3 separate regions of the Homo sapiens genome follow, and all the other regions are linked to region 1. Evidence: promoter capture Hi-C in 16 types of primary human blood cells and fetal thymus (Javierre and others, 2016). All regions are on one chromosome and are shown on one strand. The core of a region is centred on a gene start or on the middle of the fragment in contact, and the rest is flanking DNA. Distances in the headings are between cores, read along the strand shown.

Evidence for each region. Contacts are between HindIII fragments. The CHiCAGO score rates a contact against its expected background, and 5 or more counts as called.
Region 2: a contact is called between a fragment that was not itself captured here and the fragment with the promoter of DNAJC22 in region 1, in 1 of 17 cell types (megakaryocytes). The highest score is 5.5, in megakaryocytes.
Region 3: the fragment with the promoter of DHH here is called in contact with the fragment with the promoter of DNAJC22 in region 1 in 5 of 17 cell types (neutrophils, erythroblasts, M0 macrophages and 2 more); the score reaches 8.4 in neutrophils.

Annotation. Positions count from the first base shown.
Region 1 is chr12:49,345,307-49,348,981 of GRCh38, forward strand. DNAJC22 (DnaJ heat shock protein family (Hsp40) member C22) reads left to right here and starts at 1,582. Exons shown (of 4, transcript NM_001304944.2): 1 at 1,582-2,245; 2 at 2,338-2,799; 3 at 3,460-3,675. The coding sequence starts at 3,567. RefSeq lists silencers at 1-96, 127-226, 247-366, 2,399-2,618 and an enhancer at 2,281-3,224. The HindIII fragment of the contact is 2,270 bases long and covers 1,456-3,675 here.
Region 2 is chr12:49,495,388-49,499,075 of GRCh38, forward strand. It overlaps SPATS2 (spermatogenesis associated serine rich 2), which reads left to right. Exons shown (of 14, transcript NM_023071.4): 8 at 1,446-1,622. Among named protein-coding and RNA genes, the nearest start is that of KCNH3, 42 kb to the right of the region's middle. The HindIII fragment of the contact is 1,768 bases long and covers 1,031-2,798 here.
Region 3 is chr12:49,093,328-49,096,534 of GRCh38, forward strand. It overlaps DHH (desert hedgehog signaling molecule), which reads right to left and starts at 1,474. Exons shown (of 3, transcript NM_021044.4): 1 at 883-1,474. The coding sequence starts at 1,185. DHH-AS1 (DHH antisense RNA 1) reads left to right here. Exons shown (of 4, transcript XR_007063295.1): 3 at 795-861; 4 at 2,074-2,417. The HindIII fragment of the contact is 10,631 bases long and covers 1-1,698 here.

The sequences.
Region 1 (3,675 bases), core at 332-2,831:
AGCCCTGCCAACTCCCCCAGCAGGCTCCAGTCTCGCTTCAGCGGCCGCCACCCTTCGTTGCCCCTGGAGCCGCCGGGGAGGCCAGTGTCGGAGCCAGCCATGCGGCGGCTCCTCTCTGGCCGCTCCCGCGGGGCCGGGGCTTCGGCGGCTGCTGTCACGGAGCCGACAGGCCGGGCCGGCCGGGAAGGGGCGGGTGGCGGGGGGGAGAGGCGGCGGGGTGAGGCTGGCTCAGCGCTGGCACTCAGTGGGCGCGCAACGTATGTTTGCCGAATTGAAAGGCTGGGACACCGAGCGGCGCAGGGCAGAGGGTCGGAGGGCACAGGCGGGGTAGGAGATGGCCCAGACCGGGTGAGGGCAGAAGCCTCACTCACGGGGGAAGAAGGCACTCGAGGTCGCTCTGAGGACCGCTGGGCTGGGATAGACCACCCATCCCCCGCCGGGGAGACCCGGGTAGTAAAGAACAAGACAGAATGGGACAGGCAGGACGGTTTGGACCCCACCTACAAGCGCCTCCACCACCCCAGCCTCCGATCCTTGTCACGCTCTGCTGGGGAAACCGAGGCAGCCGATGCTGAGAATAGCCAAAAAGTTAAAAGCGGGGTCAGCGACGAAGCTGGGGCAGCAACCAGAATTCCTGCGTGGGTTTTTTGGATTCCTCCGCCCACGCGGGGCCAGTTTGCGGGTAAATGCACCACCGCGCCCCGCACCACAGCTCAGACCCTTTCCTCTCGCTGCAGTTTGTCAGATCCCCCCACCTCCCACTCTGCACCAGTTTATAGAACAACAATTTGGGGAAAACAATCCGGGCGGAGTGACGGCCCCGTAATTGTGACAAAGTGAGTGCGGGCGGCTGGAGAGAGCGCTAGGCCGGGAGCGCTGCAGGGCGAGGCGGAGGCAGGGGCGCCTCCCCCCGCCCTGCCGCCCCCTCGTTCTTATTCCGGTCACCTCCCATCCCTCTCCTTGACTCTTCAATTCCTCTTCTCCCGGCCCCTTGCGCCTTCCTTCGCTTGTTCCTCCATCGCTCTTCCCTTTCCTCCCGGTAACAGCTCTTCTCCCGCTCCCCCGACCCCGTCGCCCCTCCCCCGGTGCGCTTTTTCCTCGCTCACTTCTCCCCTCTCCTCTGCCCTCCACTCGTTTCTTCAGCTTTTCCTCGCGCTTACATTGCCCTTGGGCCCCTGGCTCTCCCCGCACAATCCGCTTCTCTCCCTCCCCACTCCTCCCTTCCTGAGATCGAACCCTGAGCCCCTTCCCGACCCCCACTCTCTGGGCCGCCAGCGCAGCCCCGCATTTCTGGGTTCCTCGGGAAGTAAACCTGGGGGCGCGCTGCGGCCCCGGGTGCCCCGGCGGCCAGCCCCTTCCCTCTCCCTTGTATGGCTGCCGCCCCCGCCCCACCACCTGAGCCGGGAGATAGTTTGTTTGTCCAGCGGCGGCCGCCGCCGCCCACGCTGTTTGCAAAGCTTAGCGCGCCGTCGCGCAGTGCGGGCCCAATTAAGTCTCATTCATTATTCAGCGCTCCTGTCCGCCCCCGCCCCCCAGCAGTCTGAGGCGTCGCTTTGGGGCCCCTCCCAGCCTAGGCCCCTCAGTGAGCCCTAAGAGGTCATATAGAGAGCAGCATTTCCTCTCCAGGCCGAGATGAGGGCTGAGGGCGTTTGGAGGGAAGCGCTCTGCCTACTGCCGGGAGGTGACACCCGCGAGGCCGACCGTCCCCCGAAGCCCCCGCAAGTCCAGACTGGGGGACCTCGGAGATCCACGAGATTGCCAGAGAAGGAAATTGAGGCCCAAGAAGCTGCATGACTTAGCCAAGTTCACGGAGTAGAACCCGGGATTGGAGCCCGGGACATTGAAATGAAGGCGTCTTGCATTGCAGCTCCGTTGCAGCGCAGAGGCGCAGGAAGGCAGACTACCACGAGCCTCGGGCTGCGGCCTCGCCCTCCTGGTCGAGCCTCCTGCCCTCCAACCCTCTGCTCCCGTTTCTCCCTCTGGTTCATAGCCCGCGGGACAGAGCAGCCCTGGATTGGGAGGCTCCTCAGGTCTCAGGCTCAGGTGCAGAAGCAGAGCCCCTAACTGGAAGGCTCGGAGGTGGGCCGGTGAGGCAAGCAAGCCCTGTGGGGGGTTGAGGACAGCTTGGGTTGGATGTCCCTCACTGCAGCCTGTCCGTGGATGTCTCTGCCTTAAGGGAATTGGAGGTGGAACCATCCAGTCTTGAAGGTCAACGGAGCGTGAAGAGAGGAGCGTGCAGCTTGAGGTGAGGGAGGAGTCACCTTTCAATTTGTGGGGGTGGGAGGAGGTAATCAAGGACGTATTCTTGCATTTACAGGAGTTTATCCTTTTTTTTAGCACTACAGATAGGAGCGTCCCTTGCTCCTGCCAGGCAGCCCCTCCATAGGGGCAGTCCTGTGCTGCTGTGCCTCGGTACCCGCACAAGGTGTCTGGGGACCGCCCGGACCCCCCCTTCCATCGGCGGCAGCGCCACCTGGCGGCCATGGTGCGGTGGTGTGGGAGGAGCTGGGCCCGGGCTGGGCACTGAGCCCACCGGAGCTGCAGGCGTCTGCAGAGCCTTGCACCGAGTTTCCCCGCGAGGGCGGGCGGGAGGAGTCCCAGGCGGGAATGTGATCCCCAGGGGGCCGGGGAGGGCCCTGGGGAGGAGCCTGGCCTGGGGAAGCCGGACTTCCGTGACACAACAGACACAAAAGACAAAGTCCATTTGGATGGAAGTGGGAGCAGGGCGAGACGGGCCATTTTCACTCTGTGGTCAAAGGAAATGACTGGTCTGACTCGGTCTGGGAGCGGGGCACCCAGGTATGGCCACTTGATTTGGAAGTAGCGGGTGCTGGCTGGTGGTCGCTCCAGATAGAGGGGACACTGGCAGGCACGCTTGGCGTCCAGTTTGATATTGTGAGGATTTGTCCAGCTGCTGTGGAGTGGCTTTCCAAGCCGGCCTCCGAAAGAGGTGGTTGAATTGTGGGGTGCCAAGGTCTAGGTCAAACGAAGTTTTCCAGAATATTTTAATAAAGGGAATTCAGGACCCCTTTCAAGTTTGACCTGTGGGAAAATCTCATGGCCTGGAGAGTTAGGAAGGCAGGAGAGTGGCTAAAGCCTGGGCCAGGTGTGGGAGGGCAGCCACAGTTGGAGTTAAGTCAGGGGTAAGGCAGAGGCTTTCAAAATGTGTGGGAACTTTGGAAAAGCATCCAATGCAGCCCTGCCCCTCCACACATCCCCCCATGAGTCATTTGGGGTCATGGGTCTCAGGGGAAGTCTGAAATTTAAACAGCTTTCTCCTCTAAATCTGGAGTCACTGTGGTTGTAAAGAATGGGACTGAGGTGCTAGGACAAGGGATATGAGATAAATAGCACTGGGGACTCAGGCAGATCTGTACTCAACTTTTATTGGAAAGAGAAATGGTTGCTGTGTTGGAGCCTGGACATCATCTTATGACTCTACTTTTTCCCATCTCTTAGGGTCTAAGGATAACTCTGGGGCCATGACAGCCATGAGTCTCACAGAGGACCCCGAGACTTCTGTGCTGCGAGTAACCGGACTTGTTCTGAGACCTTTGCCCTAGAGGATGGCCAAGGGGCTCCTGGTGACCTATGCCCTCTGGGCTGTGGGGGGCCCTGCTGGGCTCCACCACCTGTACCTGGGAAGGGACAGCCACGCCCTGCTCTGGATGCTGA
Region 2 (3,688 bases), core at 665-3,164, 150 kb after region 1:
GGGGTTTCACCGTGTTAGCCAGGATAGTCTTGATCTCCTGACCTCATGATCCACCCGCCTCAGCCACCCAAAGTGCTGGGATTACAGGCGTTGCCCACCGCGCCTGGCTGAAAAAATACAATTCTTGTTCCATTATATTTTAACTCTTGTCTAAATCAGTTTTGTGGAAATCATCTAACTTGAACCCTAGTGTTCCATTATTGGAACGCTGAGCATGTGGGAGTTATTCATATCCTACTGCTCAAGGTCATCGCCAAGATCTAATTTTTCCACTCATGCAAAAATTAAAAAAATTGCAGCCTCCGGCATAAATGGGTTAATAGCAGAGAAATACCTCAGTATTTAGAGACTACAGAAGGTGACTTTAAGTTGTTTTTTAAAAATTGTGGAGTTATTCAGGAAGATGATGATGTTGATATTATTATTTTAAGACCCAACATAGTGAGAAATATAATAATGATAATTTCAGCTTTTGTGAGAACTAGGCTGTTGGTTTTTATAGTCTCACATTTGTTTTCTAGTGAAGAATTAAGATTAGTGTTAGTTGTAAATTCACATATCTTGTACCTTTCTTTGTTAACCATTTTTTTGAGGGTAAGATACTGGAAATTTCTCTTTTAAAACATTACTTGTTAATCCAGTTCCCCTGCCCTGCTGCTCCTGGCTTTAGAAGTGTAATGCCAATATAAGATTTATGCTGTGCTGTTTAGGTGTTCTTTTATTGATTAGTATACACACATACACAAAAAAAGACTTAGAGAAAAACATTGCACTGACTCAAACCAACAATAGCCAGTGGTTTCCATTTTTTTCTGAACTAGCTTTCCTCTCATTTCCTAACTCTTCCTAACTTATTACACTTCTATCCCCTAGAGCGTTGTTGTTTGTTTGTTTGTTTGTTTGTTTTGAGAGACCTGGTCTCTCTCTGTTGCCCAAGCTGGTCTTAAACTCCTGTGCTCAAGTGATCCTTCTGCCTCAGCTTCCTGAATACCTGGGATTACTGGCGTGAGCCACTATGCCTGGCCCCTAAAGCTTTTTAAATTCTTCTTTCCTCGAGAGAGTTTAAAACTCTTTTTTTCTTAACATGGAGGCTTGCAGAAGTTGGTGATACTGACTTTCTTTGATTCCTTGTGCCAGACTTACATAGAAACTACCAAGCTACAAAGAAGCCACAGAGCCACAGGGATTGAGCTCCCTATCTAAAGATGTGTTGCCACAGACTCTTCTCTTCATTCCGGACGCCACTTAAGACTAAGCCCGAAGCTGCCGATAGCCATACCCAGCTGATTCTGATCTTTGTTCTATTGTTTCAGTTGATTTTGTTTACAGTCTTTTAAGAGGCATGGTTTTGCCTCAAACATTTTTACCTGTTTTCTTTGTGTACTTAAGAATGACTGGTTTACTCCTAAATTGTGCTCTAAAGTACAGTCCTCTTTCTTGGACAGGATCCATGCTGCAGAATGGTGTCTCTGATTTTGAGACCAAGTCTTTGACTATGCACTCTATTCACAATTCTCAACAACCCAGGAATGCTGCCAAATCTCTCTCAAGACCTACCACAGAAACTCAGTTTTCAAATATGGGGATGGAAGATGTTCCCCTCGCCACCAGTAAAAAGCTAAGTAAGTCAGAGGCCCACCTGTGAGAGAAAATGAAAAATCTGTGTTTTTGGCTAAAGAGGGCAAATTATCTCTGTTGCCATAAATAAGGTTTCAGAAGGGCATCAGTTAATATTTTTCCATTTTCCAGACAGTGACTGACTACTCAGCCCTTCCCCTAACCTTTGTGTACACAGTTGGAGTCTGAAAGTAGTTTAAATGCTGTACAATCTACTTACGACGGCACGTTTTGTGAATTAAAGTCAAACTCTACTGCCAGAATGATTTACCTGCTAACATTAACCTGTTTCTTTATTTGCTTTATTGCAACGTTTTGGTGCTATTTCTTTCATTTTTATCTTCTGGTTGACCCAACAAGTAAAAGCTCTACCTTCTCTGACATTGACTTTTTTTTTTTTTTTCCCCCGAGACTGAGTCTCACTTTGTCCCCCAGGCTGGAGTGCAGTGGCGCAGTCTTGGCTCACTGCAAGCTCCGCCTCCCGGGTTCATGCCATTCTCCTGCCTCAGCCTACCAAGTAGCTGGGACTACAGGCGAGTGCCACCATGCCCGGCTATTTTTTTGTATTTTTAGTAGAGATGGGGTTTCGCCGTGTTAGCCAGGATGGTCTCGATCTCCTGACCTCGTGATCCGCCTGTCTCGGCCTCCCAAAGTGCTGGAATTACAGGCGTGAGCCACTGCGCCCAGCCAACATTGACATTTTAAAGAAATATTTTCACTCCTCTTCATAACTTCATGCTCTTACTGAGCTAGAGTCCTCTGACAGACTCTAGCTTAGAAAAAGTAAGGTCATTTTCTCTTAAGTATGTGGCGTTGACTGGTGATAGCTCTTTGCTTAAAAAAAAAAGAAAACTACAATAATCATTTAAACAAACAGCCAGTAATTCAGCAGACAGAGATAATACCCTGTGTTTCCTATATCTGAGTTTCATACATCTAAGCATGGTGGTCCACTCCACTAAACAAATGAAACATAGAAATATAAAGGACACTTGTAATCAGTAGCTCTTTATGGAATTATTTATTACACATGAGCCAAATTTTAATTAGGTAAGCTCCCCTTTTTCATTGTTCTGGTAGCCCTCAGCCTGTTGCAGATCAGCAGGTTTGAGACTATCCAATCAAGCCAAAAAAAAAAAAAATATATATATATATATATATATATGCGCACAAGGCTTGAAAGCTTTTAGGTGGATTCTAAAAAATAAAATCAAGTTGAGATGAGGAAGAATTTAAATAAAAAAATTGGAAATGCATATCTTGGCATAGTTACAAACTTTTTAGATCCATGTTTCCAGCAATCAATTATATATGTAATTTGGGGATTGGTGAATATAGAAAGGTAAATAGAACTCTTGGAAATTGGTTAAAATGTGTTGAGTAGGTAAATGCAGTCCATCCTTTTCTACAAAGCTGGCTTCCTCATATATACAGTGCTTTGAAGTGTACTATACAGACAGAACATTTTAATTTTGTAATGTCCACATGGTGAATTATATTCTATTAAATCCTGTAACTTAAGGAATTTTGAAAATTTGGTACCTTTTTTAAAGTCTTTTTTCTCTGTGTGTTTCATTTCATTTTGGATAGTTTGTAAAACTGCTGTCTTCAACTGTATTCATCTTTTGTTAACAGTTTCTATTCTGCTGTTAATTCTATGCAGTATATGTCTCTGGCATTGTTTTATTTGTCTCTAGAAGTTCAACTGGGGTCTTTTAAGATATCTTCCATATCTCTTCTTACCACGCTTATGCTTTCCTCTACCTTCTTGAACATATGGTATCTATTTTTTTTTTTTTTTTTTTTGAGATGGAGTTTCACTCTTGTCACCCAGGCTGGAGTGCAATGGTGTGATTTCAGCTCACTGAAACCTCCGCCTCCCAGTGATTCTCCTGCCTCAGCCTCCCGAGTAGCTGGGATTACAGGTGCGTGCCACCACACCCAGCTAATTTTGTATTTTTAGTAGAGACAGGGTTTCACCATGCTGGCCAGGCTGGTCTTGAACTCCTGGCCTCAGGTGATCCACCCATCTTGGCCTCCCAAAGTGCTGGGATTACAGGCGTGAGCCACC
Region 3 (3,207 bases), core at 224-2,723, 250 kb before region 1:
GAGGATCCCTTGAGCTCAGGAGTTCAAGACTAGCCTAGGCAACATGGCAAGACCCCGTCTCTACAAAAAATAAAAAATAAATCACTCGCCAGAGGTGGTCCTTCTCTTCCACCTCACTCTAGGTGGTTCCAATGCTCAAAAATGGTAGTTGAATTTATCCTAATTATGTAATTCCAAGGAAAGCCCCTGAGATAGGCAGAGCTTGGAAGACTTAGGAGCCCTCTGATTCTCAGGTGGGTCCATCTGTTATTCTCACTGAGGATTACTTTTTAACCCCAAGATTATCGTTTAGACCCTAGGATAGCCCTAGAATAGACCCTAGAATAGATGTGTCCTGGTTCTAGGACACGTTTCCCATGCCAAAAGCAATGTCTGCCCAGCCCCTCCTCAGGTAGATGGTCTGGTGACCTGACCCTTGGCCACCCCTGTCCCAGCCCTTTTCAGTCTCTTCTTTTCGGCCCACAGAGCTTTTCTACAATCAGGTCAGGAGCCAGGCTTCTGTCTGCTACCTAGCCAGCTCCTGGCCCCCAGCTCACCCCAGCCCTTCCTGCCTGGCTGGGTGGCTGACCCCCGGTCCACGCCTCAGCCATTTCCCGTCTCGCCTGCCGCCATCCTCCTTTCCCCGCCCTCGCTGCCTCTACCAGCTTCACTCTCACTAGTCAGTCCCTCCTCCCCTCCCCATCCCAGACTATTCTAGTCGGGAGCCGTCCTAATTACTCTGTCCAGACTGCAAGGATTTTTCCCCCCCCTGGGGCTGGTGACAAGGGAAATCTCTAAGGCTAAACTCTCTGTAGGTGAAGCTGGACTCACCCACCTGGGCTGCCATAGGAAAACGGAGGAGCTGGCAGTGCCCCGGCGCAGGTAGGGAGAGGCCCTCCTTACCTCGGTCATCAGGCGGTCGGCTCCACTGTTCTCCTCATCCTTGAAGATGATGTCGGGGTTGTAGTTGGGCACGAGGTCCCGGAAGCGCTCGGAGCCCCTTGCCACCCTCCCCTCCGCTGGCCCACTGGCGCCCAGGGTCCGCTCTGGCACGCCGGGCACAAATTGCTTGTAGAGTAGCGGCACGAGCTGCTTGCGCGCATAGCGGCGCCGGCCAACCGGCCCCCGGCCCGGCCCGCAGCTCTGGGCTGGCAGCGCCAGAAGTGCCAAGCAGCACAGGGGCAGTAGATTGGTCAGGAGAGCCATGGATACAGCGGACCTCGGCCAAAAGGGAGCGTTCTTGTCCTCACTAACTCTCCTGTCAGTTAGGCATCTCCACAGGCACCAGAGAGGGCAGCAGGCACAGCTGCCCCCAGAGTGCCCTAGAGCTCTTGTGGCTCCGTGCACCTGGCTGCTGCTAGCTCTGCCCACGTGCCCCGGGAGCGGGCGGGGGGTGTCTAGGACCTGCTACTGACAAACCATCATAGCAGGGAAGGGGGGTCGTGGGTGAGTGCCAGCCCAGCCCGTCTCTGCTGCAGGACTCTGGTGCTGCCAGAACGCCCGGACTCCGGACTCCGCCTTAAGTGGCCCCTGGCCCCGCCCTCCGCCCTTCTCCCAAGACCGTCCCACCCCCTCCCACCCGGGCGGGGGATCTAGCCGGTCACTGCTGGTCCATTTTGCGACTGAAGTGTGTCCCATCCTGGAAACCAGGCAGACACCTGCCTAGGAAATACTTGTAGCTTTACAGTCCTTGGCTGCCTAAACATCCTTCTACCTCCAAGCTTAAACTTGGAACCAAACCACCCTCCTCTGATACTTGAATTGGAATTTTTACTCTCTCAAAGCCTACCCTGGCAGGCCATGCCCTCCGCTGTCATCCAGGAAGTATGGGTTCCAATTTCTGCCCAAGACCAGCCAAGCCCTTTGGGCATACAACCAGAGCCTCCCTTCTCTGTAGTCCTCCCCAGATCTCCCCGACTTCCATCTCTCCTCACATTCAGCATTAAGCAGGACTGGGAGGTGAGGATACCAGGGGCCCATTTCTCTACTAACTTTGCAGTCTCCTTTGGAACTTCCCCAGAACCAGGAACAGAGCTTGGTACTTATTGTCTCATTTAGGACTTCCAACTTTTTTCCCCTTCTCTTCTTTGCCAGGCATCTAATAGCTGCTGTTTTTCAAATGAATGACTTCTCAGTTGGAAGCTGCTGAAGGGCAGTGGACACTCAAAAGTCTTTGTAAGAGGTGAGGATCACTTCCCTTAACCGTCCATCTAGGCACCTCTCCAGCTTTCTCCCTCTCTGGACTCCCGGGGCTCCATTTTCAGCCACTCAGATCTCATCTCAGAGGCACCACGTCCAATTTCTTTTGTTTAGAAGTCATTTCTTCTAAGAAGCCTTCCTTGATGTCCCAACACTGCCCACCTGTGTTCCCTCGAGAACCATTACTTAACTGCAGTGTTAGAACAGTATTAGAATTATCTGGCACCTTACTAGACAAAGCAATCTTAAGCACACACATATTTATCATGTATCTCCAAGGTTAAGTGCCTACTCTACAGAAGGGTGCTTTGCAAGCATTTGTGGAATCTACACTTTGTGTTTCATATTCACCCTCCCCTCACCACACTCTATGGCTAGTACTCATAGCAACTTTGTGTACATCAGAAAAAACCAGGCCAGGCACAGTGGCTCACTCCTGTAATCCCAACACTTTGGGGGCGAGGCAAGGACTGCTTGAGGCCATGAGTTGAAGACCAACTTGGTCAACATAGTGACACCCCGTTTCAAAAAAAAAAAATTAATTAGTGGGAGGTAGTGGTACATGCCTGTAGTCTTAGGTACTCAGGAGGCTGAGGAAGGAGGATCACTTGGGTGCAAGAGTTCAAGGCTGTAGAGTGAGCTAAGATCATGCCACTGCACTCTAACCTGGGTGACAGAGTGAGGACCCCCCCCCCCAAAAAAAAGATGGCTGGGTGTTGTGGCTAACCCCTGTAATTCCATCATTTGGGGAGTCCAAGGTAGGTGGATCACTTGAGCTCAGGAGTTCAAGACCAGCCCAGGCAACATGGCAAAACCCCATCTCTACTAAAAATACAAAAATTAGCCAGGCATGGTAGCATGTGTCTGTTGTCCTAGCTATTCTGGAGCCTGAGCTGGAAGAATGGCTTGAGCCCAGAATGCGGAGGTTGCAGTGAGCTGAGATTGCACCACTGCACTCCAGCCAGGGTGATAGAGCCAGACCTTGTCTCACAAAAAAAAAAAAAAAAAAAAGAAGAAGAAAAAAGAAAA